3 separate regions of the Homo sapiens genome follow, and all the other regions are linked to region 3. Evidence: promoter capture Hi-C in human tissues and cell types (Jung and others, 2019). All regions are on one chromosome and are shown on one strand. Each heading gives the region's core, a stretch centred on a gene start or on the middle of the fragment in contact. The rest is flanking DNA. Distances are from core to core; before and after follow the strand shown.

What was found. Contacts are between HindIII fragments. The study calls those that stand out against the background at their distance.
Region 1: a fragment that was not itself captured here is called in contact with the fragment with the promoter of PAK2 in region 3 in 1 of the 25 tissues and cell types used here (dorsolateral prefrontal cortex).
Region 2: a contact is called between a fragment that was not itself captured here and the fragment with the promoter of PAK2 in region 3, in 2 of the 25 tissues and cell types used here (dorsolateral prefrontal cortex and hippocampus).

What each region holds. Positions count from the first base shown.
Region 1 is chr3:197,263,687-197,266,767 of GRCh38, forward strand. The region is part of intron 4 of DLG1 (discs large MAGUK scaffold protein 1); the gene reads right to left. Among named protein-coding and RNA genes, the nearest start is that of MIR4797, 29 kb to the right of the region's middle. The HindIII fragment of the contact is 3,222 bases long and covers 192-3,081 here.
Region 2 is chr3:197,307,647-197,310,630 of GRCh38, forward strand. No RefSeq gene overlaps it. Among named protein-coding and RNA genes, the nearest start is that of DLG1, 11 kb to the left of the region's middle. The HindIII fragment of the contact is 4,492 bases long and covers 1-2,984 here.
Region 3 is chr3:196,738,261-196,741,379 of GRCh38, forward strand. PAK2 (p21 (RAC1) activated kinase 2) reads left to right here and starts at 1,597. Exons shown (of 15, transcript NM_002577.4): 1 at 1,597-1,897. RefSeq lists a silencer at 1,388-2,177. The HindIII fragment of the contact is 11,501 bases long and covers 1-3,119 here.

The DNA of each region.
Region 1 (3,081 bases), core at 553-3,052, 530 kb after region 3:
TGAGGTGGGAGAATCACTTGAACACAGGAGGTGGACACTGCAGTGAGCCGAGATCTCACCACTGCACTCCAGGCTGGGCGACAAAGTGGGACTCCATCTCAAAAGAAAAAGAAAAAAAAGAAAAGAAATGTCTCAAATACCTACCACTTTATCCCCATCATCTTGGGGGATAGCAGGGTGACCACAATGTTTGCTGAATTAATGAGTGGCCTTTCTAATATTTAAACTATAGGTGATTACAAAATTGAAAACAGCCTGAAACAATCCTGAAAATTAGACATTCCATTTTCCCAGTAAAAATAGAAGTTTGCCAACTCAATTACAAACCTGTAAGAATAAGATGAAATAGTCAAATATCCAAATTAATCAGTTAACATATAATTACTTAACAACACATTAAAATAGTATGTCTAATATATTATTCCAGTCACATTTCAAAGAACAAATTTTAGTTAAACTCCTCACATTCATCTCCGATGTCTAGGGTCATCATAACCACAACCACTTTTTAATGATCTAATCTCTGTGACCTCAAACATCAGTTTTATACGGTTTAAGTTGTTTGAGATATGGCCCTTTCTGAACTACAACGTCACTTGACCATTTATCCCTAATTACTACTACAGATTGGGTATCCCTAATCCAAAAATCCACAATCCAAATGCTCCAAAATCCAAAATCTTTTAAGTGCCAGCATAACACTCAAAGACAATACTCGTTGGAGCATTTCAGATTTTGTTATCTTTTGTTTTTTGAGATGGAGTTTCACTCTTGTTACCCAGGCTGGAGTCCAATGGCACAATCTCAACTTACTGCAACCTTTGCCTCCCAGGTTCAAGCGATGATTCTCCTGCCTCAGCCTCCCGAGTAGCTGGGATTACAGATGCCTGCCACCACGCCCAGCTAATTTTTGTATCTTTAGTAGAGACGGGGTTTTGACATGTTGGCCAGGCTGGTCTCAAACTCCTGACCTCAGGCGATCCACCTGCCTCGGCCTCCCAAAGTGCTGGGATTACAAGGGTGAGCCACTGTGCCTAGCCACGTTCCAGATTTTGAATTTTCAGATCAGGGATATTCAACCAACAAGTATAATGCAAATATCAAAATCCAAATAAATCCAAAATCCAAAACGCTTCTGGTCCCAAGTATTTTGGATAAGGAACACTCAACTTGTAGTGCTCATTCACAGAAGAGGAAGCCACTTTCCCCTGTACTGTAGGCGTGTATTTATAACCTTCATGATGTAACTAACCCCTTACTATATTATTTTTTAATATACCTAATAATCCTTCAAAAAAGCTTGCATAGATCTAATACTTACAGGTTTTAAGGCTGTACTCAGGGAATGATTATTCAATTTGTGTTAAATTCTACACTAACTGCATCTTCTGTAAGTATCTGTAAGTACCCAACTGGCACTGAGTAAGGTACATTTCAAGCCTATGTGTTCTCTTCAGATGGTCATTTGCTGTTAAAAGTAATTTAGAAATCACCCTGTAATATGAGCTACTTTAGAAGGACTTGAAATATAAGCCTTTTGGGATGGCAACACTTCACCTAATAGGCACATAAGATAATTAACAGTATTTTAGAATACCAATGGCTTTCCATAAACAAGCAATTGCTGCCAACCATAATGGAATAAAAAAAAAGACTGACTTTCAGACACTGGACCCTGTGAGAAGAGAAACTAATGAGGTGAGTCCTGTAAATGCCCAGAAAAAGTTTCCTGGCTGTAGCAGAAGGGGGAAACTCAACGAAACCCAGCAGCCTTAAGTTGAGGAGAAAGCGTTGAGAATAAACAGAGCTAAAACTCACAGGTAAGAGTACCAGAAAGGAGAGAGCGGGACAGAAAAAGCTCCAGAGATCTGCAGAGTTCCCCTCGAGTCTTCAGATTAGTTTTGATCAGTACATGCATGTAAGGAAACTTCAAGGTGAGGAAAAAATCTTAGAAAGCAGCAAATGGAACAAAACCCAGAGCTCACGCAAGGCCAAGAATAATGAAAACTCATAATATACTGGGCAGTGGGGATAGCCTTCTACAACCAAATGTTGCTCAGTCCCACTGAAAAAGCTTAAAAGCAGCCAGGCGCGGTGGCTCACACCTGTAATCCCAGCACTCTGGGAGGCCAAGGAGAGTGGATCACGAGGTCAGGAACTCAAGACCAGCCTGACCAACATGGTGAAACCCCGTCTCTACCAAAAATACAAAAATTAGCCAGGCGTGGTGGCACATGCCTGTAATCCCAGCTACTCAGGAGGCTGAGGTAGGAGAATCACTTGAACCCAGGAAGCGGAGGTTGCAGTGAGCCGAGATCATGCCACGGCACTCCAGCCTGGGCAACGGGGCAAGACTCCGTCTCAAAAACAAACAAAAAAGCAGTCTGAATGGCATCAAACTCTTTCCAAGTCATTTAACTACATCCCAAAACAAAGCTCAAGAATATTTAAAAGAATAAAAAAATATCTAGGCCCCCAAAAGGTAAAATTCACAACGTCTGCCAAATTCATCCAAATTATCAAGCATGTAAAGAAGCAAGGAAACACGATCCAGAGAAGAGAAAAAAAATCAATCAATAAAAACTGACCCAGAAATGACACATAATAGAATCAGTAGACAAAAACATTTTAAAAGTTACTTTAACTCTGTCCCTTATGTTTATGAAGACAGAGAAGGATAGAGTGTGTTAATTAGACAAAAATAAAAACGAAACTATCGAGACCAACCTGGGCAATCCAGCAAGACCCCATCTCTGCCAAAAAATTAAAAAAAAAAATTGCCCAGCCTGGTGGTATACATGTGTAGCCCCAGGTACTTGGGGAGGCTGAGGCAGCAGGACTGCTTGAAGCCAGGAGGCTGAGGATGCAGTGGGCCATGACCACATCACTGCACTGCAGCCTGGGCGACGCAGCAAGACCCTGTCTCCAAAAAGAAGGAGAGGGAGAGGAGAAGAGAAGAGAAACTAAATCAAGCTTCTAGAGGTAAACTGTCTGAAATAAAAAACTGACTGAGATTAATAGTATACTAGATACTTGAGAAGATTAATGAACTTGAAGACATAGCAACAGCAATTGTCTAAA
Region 2 (2,984 bases), core at 312-2,811, 570 kb after region 3:
CCCAGCACTTTGGGAGGCTGAGGCAGGTGGATCACCTGAGGTCAAGTGTTCAAGACCAGCGTGGTCAACATCGTGAAACCCTGTCTCTACTAAAAATACAAAAATGAACCGGGCATGGTGGCAGGTACCTGCAATCCCAGCTACTCAGGAGGCTGAGGCATGAGAATTGCTTGAACCCGGCAGGCAGAGGTTGCAGTGAGCTATTGCGCCACTGTACTCCAGCCTGGGCGACATAGCGAGACTCCTTCTCAAAACAAACAAACAAAAACGAATGGATTTAAACAAGTTGGCAAGTCACTTTGCGTGCCACTACATTTTGAAATGTCAAGGGGGATTGGGATGAGAAAGTAATTCAAGAAATTGCTATATATGATGAAAGACTGAATACACACCAGACCATATATGACAACAGAACTCTGTGATCCACAACCTCTGCAGCAAGCAACCCAGGAAATCAGACAACAACCACTGCAGTAATTGGCCTAAAATAATCAGAACTTGGTCAATGACTGCCAGCTTCCCTATTTTTTTTTTTTTTTTTTTGAGACGGAGTCTCACTCTGTCGCCCAGGCTGGAGTGCAGTGGCGCGATCTCGGATCACTGCAGGCTCCGCCTCCCGGGTTCACACCATTCTCCTGCCTCAGCCTCCCGAGGAGCTGGGACTACAGGCACCCGCCACCACGCCCGGCTATTTTTTTTGTATTTTTTAGTAGAGACGGGGTTTCACCATGTTAGCCAGGATGGTCTCGATCTCCTGACCTCGTGATCCGCCTGCCTCGGCCTCCCAAAGTGCTGGGATTACAGGCGTAAGCCACCACGCCCGGCCCAGCTTCACTAATTTTTACCATCTTTCAACTCAAGGCCAATCAGAGAAAGGCAAGTATTCTCCCTAAATCAATCATACAAAATGCCTTGCTTCTAGTTATCTTGCCTCCAGCTTTTCCATACCTGAGGATCTCCTTTTCTCTTCTTTTAATTATAAAGCTTTCCTACTCCCTTGCCTGCCTTTGAGCCTCTGCCAAATGCAAGTGACGGTGCTCACTCCCTCGCTATAGCAAGCTCTGTATAAATAGCCTCTGTTCTCATTCAGGTGGTCATCACTTACTTCCACAGACAGGGAAAGTTCCTAAAAACAGACAGAAAAATTGTTTAGTCTGCTACTTTAATAAAAGCCTTATTCATCAGGTCATTCAGTAAACTAATCTGTATGATGCAACTACTATGAGCCAGGAACTAAAACAAATTCTATTTCTCTAGGAAAATTTGTCTGAGAAGGAAATTGCAAAGCTGAAGCCTTGGGACTTGAAAATTCAAATCTTCCGTCTTTGTTTATGGTCTGTAGCAGGCAAACAACTTCGAACTTCTCAAGGTTGCTTGGCTAAACACGAACGAGTGGATGAAGAGAACACCTCAGCAATAAATATAATGCCTGGAAAAGAATTTTACTAAGAACAATGTTTTTTATGCCACTTTTTAATTTTTTTAAAAATTTCTCATTACCTCTGAAGATTTGTGACACTATTGTTTGAGCCATTATTTTTTAAATGATACATATAACTGCTTGTCTAGGATGGTTTCTCTTTCTTTCTCTTTCTCTCAATTATCTTCAGTTTTCTAATCTAGACCACAAAGTTCTCCATTAATAAAGTTGGCAAACAAAGTGTCTGAAAACATTTTGTTACAGGGAATGATATTCTGCTAAGTTTTACTGAAGATGGAATTTTCATTAGTACTGCTAATGAACCATTCTTATTCCTTTTGGGAACTATGATTTATTAAAAGAATTGTACGTTTTTTAAAAACACCAAAAGAATTACACTCATTCATTTTCAATATGACTAGGGTATTTGCAATAGAAAACTTAGTGAGTATTCCCTAAAGTCACGGTGGCTTTTAAACACTGCATAATTCTGGGTATTAACATCAGGAAAGCATTGCACTGTTCCTCATTAGAAGGATAATGCCATTATAATAGCTTTACTCTGAGGCATAAAGCGGTTAAATGAAGCACCAGAAAAGGAAAAGCAAAAGTTTGTTTGGTGAATCATTCTTTTCTATGGTTTGGTGACCCTAAATTGAGCCAGAAAAGAATGCAGCTAGTGGCTTAATTTGAAGAATTTCCCAAGGAAATGATGCAATACTGTACAATTCTTATTGGTCTCTAACCTCTGGGATCTCTGTTCATGAAGCTGCCTATTAACACAGCTTTGCAAGTTAATTGTGAACAAATCAGGAGAGAATAAAAACTCAAACATAAATCTCTGATCTAACCACTTCATTTAGGAAGGGATTTGGAAGATCTTCTCGGACCAGTGTTTTTGATTCTCTTCTTTGCATTGTGACCTTATACTGGAAACTCAGGTGTGACTGCTATTATTCTGGTCCCAAGTGCCAGGAAGTTCAGATCAGGTTGAGGGCAAGCTCAGGCCAGGGTGACTCTGAGGTCAGGCTATTCACATGTCTTTTCTTAGGCTAGGATCGCTTGAGGAACACAACCACGTTGCTGGGGTTAATAGATCTATTCTCCAAAGCCAAAGTATTTGGCATGGTCAGCATAATTGTACTGTGTGTTGCAATTGGGCTCTGAGCACAGAGTCTTGCTGAGTGCCTTATGAATTTGGTCATGGAGAGAAGGCTGGTGCAGGAGTGAGCAAGGGAAACTCCTATTCAGAGAAAGTTTTTACTCCAGAAATCACCATTCCTTAGGAGAAGATTGCTTTAAAAAATTTTTTTTTAAATTTTTTATTTTTTGAGTTGGAGTCTCACTCTGTCGCCCAGGCTGGAGTGCTATGGAGGGATCTTGGCTCACTGCAACCTCCGCCTCCTGGGTTCAAGCGATTCTCCTGCCTCAGCCTCTCCAGTAGCTGGGATTACAGGCACCCGCCACCACACCCGGCTAATTTTTTGCCATGTTGGCCAGGCTGGTCTCGGACTCCTGACCTCAGGAGATTTACCCGCCTCAGCCTCTCCAGTAGCTGGGATTA
Region 3 (3,119 bases), core at 347-2,846:
TAGGTGCCCTCAACACAACCATGGCTTCACTGCCCTGCTTACCACTCTGGTGTCCTGCCCCTTCTTCAGGTTGAGTGTGAAATTTGGAAGACTGTCAGAAACATTCTATTTTCATTCTTGCAAGTTATGCCTTTGAAAGGATGTCTTATTTATCCAGTGTTTCTGTGTGTTTAATAATCAGAGCATTTTTCAGGTTATCTCTTACTGTGCCATGTTGCTCCTTGATTCCTTTCTCTCCTGTACCCACTGCATCAATTGAGTTTTTTGCTCTACATTGATAGAGAAGCACAATTCCTCTTTCTTTCCACTGCCTTCCTACTTTATTTCCCTTCTATTCTTGCATCTCTATACTCCATTATCCACATTGCAGTCTAGTGATCTTAAAGTGTAAGCCAGGTAACATCGCTTTCCTGCTTAAAAAAGCCTTTTAATGGTTTTTTGTAATATAGACTTTTTACCATGGCATTCAGGATCTTTCATGACCTGAATCTTGTCTGCTGTAGTGTTTTCTTAATAGTACCGCCTTCTTGTTCTAGGCCCCAGCTACACAGGCCTTCTTAACTGACCGTAGCAAGCCCTTTTCTTTCTTCTCCTGCCTGTATTGCTTTTCTCTGGGTGCTTCTTATTGCTGTCTCTTTCTGTTCTTGCCTTAAGTGTCACCTCCTTAACGAGGCCTTCTCCGACCACCCTATCCAAAGTAACCTCGCCAAGTTTTTTCTTATACCAGGTGTGACTACTTTAATTACTGCGTCCTCATATAAGCTCCACAAAGGCTTGGTGAATCGTGTTCACCCTTGCATTTCTTTTGTGTTTTTTGTTTTGTTTTTGAGGCATGACGACTCTGTCACGCTGAAGTGCAGTGGCCCGATCTTGGCTCACTGCAGCCTCCTCCTCCTGGGTTCAAGCGATTCTCCTGCCTTAGTCTCCCGAGTAGCTGGGACTACAGATGCGTGCCACCATGCCCAGCTAATTTTTGTATTTTTAGTAGAAACGGGGTTTCATCGTGTTGGCCAGGCTGGTCTCGAACTCCCGACCTCAGGTGATCCGCCTGCCTCAGCCTCCCAAAGTGCTGGGATTACAGGCGTGAGCCACCGCACCTGAACCACCCTTGTATTTCTGATGCTTAACAGTGTCTAGTCCATATCAGACACTCAAATATTTGTAGAATAAGTGAAACATTGATGAACTCCTCCGTGGATAAAATAGGGAAGTCTTAATTTGCAAGGAGGTGATACTTAATTTAGCAGCAAAATTTTAGTTAAGAATTTGTAAGCAAAAAAGCAAAATGGATAACGGATGAATTCCCAGAAACAAATGTCGCGGAGCAGATGTGTATAACAGCAATCGTCTGTCAGCGTCTTCCGTCGGCAGAGACCTGCTTGGAGACAATGCTGAATTAAATGAGGGACTGGCTGCTCCTCTCAATACAAAGACTACCCAAGGAATAAAAGCAACGTCTATCACCGAACTACTACTCCCAGCGGCCCCCGCGCGGGCCTGCCCATGGGAGGTGGCGCTCGTCTCCGCCCCGGGGAGCTCCGGCTTCGGGGCGGGAGGGGTTCTGGGTTCTGGCCCCGCCCCGCCCCGCTCCCCGCCGTCTTCCTCCCCCAGGGTTGTGGCCACGCGCAGCGGCGGCGGTTGTTCCGCTTCCCCTCCGGCCCGGGCCGTCGCCATTGCCGAAGGCTCCCTCCCCTCCCCTCCCTGGCGTGCGCAGGACTCCGCCGCCGCTGGGCCTAGCGGTAGCAGCGGCTGCTCCAGCGCGGCGTCTCTTCCCGCCCCGCTTCCCCTTCCCTCCCCTCCCCTCCCCGCACCGCGCGCTAGCCCGGGGCGGCTCCGCAGCCCGCCGGGAGCTCTGACCGAGGCGCCTCGCTGGGGCGGGGACCTTGCCTTGCCCGGGGTAAGTGCACACAGGCCGGCCGGCGCGGGACGCAGGCCGGGTCTCTTCCTCCTCCTTCCTTCTCCGTGGCCTGGCGGGCGGGAGCGGCCCGGGACGGCCGACCTGCCCCGCGCGGGGCCGGGGAGCCGCCACCTGCGTGCTGGGAGCCGCAGCTCCTGGGGCGGTGGCTCATTGTCTGCTCCCCAGGGCCGTTTTCTTCGCTGGCTTTAGCCAGAAATGGGAAGCTCGCTGGGCTGCGGAGGTCTGACTCTTCCTGGACCCAGCCCTGCTCTGAACCTCGCGGCACCACGGTCTCTGCCGACTCTCGGTCTTCCCTCCCCTCGCGTTTCACCCTCTTCCTTTGCTCCGTTTTCTTAATGCTGGACCAGACTCTCCGGTTTTGTTCCTTGATTTTTCCTCTCACTGATTCTCAGCCCCTGCTTGCTCGCTCTCTGTTCACCCGTTTCACTGCTCAGGAATATTGTCGCGAGTAGCTTGACTGTTTTCTCAGCTCCAGCCTGTAACCTCTTTTCCACATTCCACATTGGTAAAAACGTAGAGCGTCCCGGGCGCTTGAGGGCCACCGCTTACGAACTGATCTTTCGGAGCTTCTCCTCGCTCCTGTTTGAGCTTCAGCCTAGGGGTGAAATTTGCTTCTTTAGATAACTTAGGTGAAGTTAAGATTGGTTTTTCACCATGTTTGGCTCTCTTGGAAACACACGCACGCACAAACACAAAACGTTGCCACTCAACCTTTTAACTAATTCTTTAAAGATAAGTCATCCAAGAACAGAAGCGTGTCATCGTCAGTGGGTGTGAGGTTGTACCCATCCTTGTATCTTAATTTTAGTAGTACTCTCCCTGGGCAGTGTGAGCGTGATTTGTTGTCCCTTGATAAATAACGAACTCCGGTTGATATCATTATCTCACTTCTGCGTTACAGGCGATGTGTCCTTTCTTTGTTTTCTTTTTTAACCTTTATAAAAAGACAAAATGGTTAGGCCTAAAATTAAACTACGAAGAGCTGTGTTTTGGATCAAGGTTGTGCACGTCACGTTTTTTCCCCTGCTGTGTTCGACTCTTCCGCTCTTATAAGTAGGCAGGATATTGAAATGTACAAGAATTTGCTCTGGGGATTTTGTTTTTGTAGGGTTGTCCAATAGAATAACACTCAGTAAAGTTACATTGGGATGAAGGCAGTGAATAGTAATTTTTAAAGCAGGTTAAAACTTGTCAACTTTGC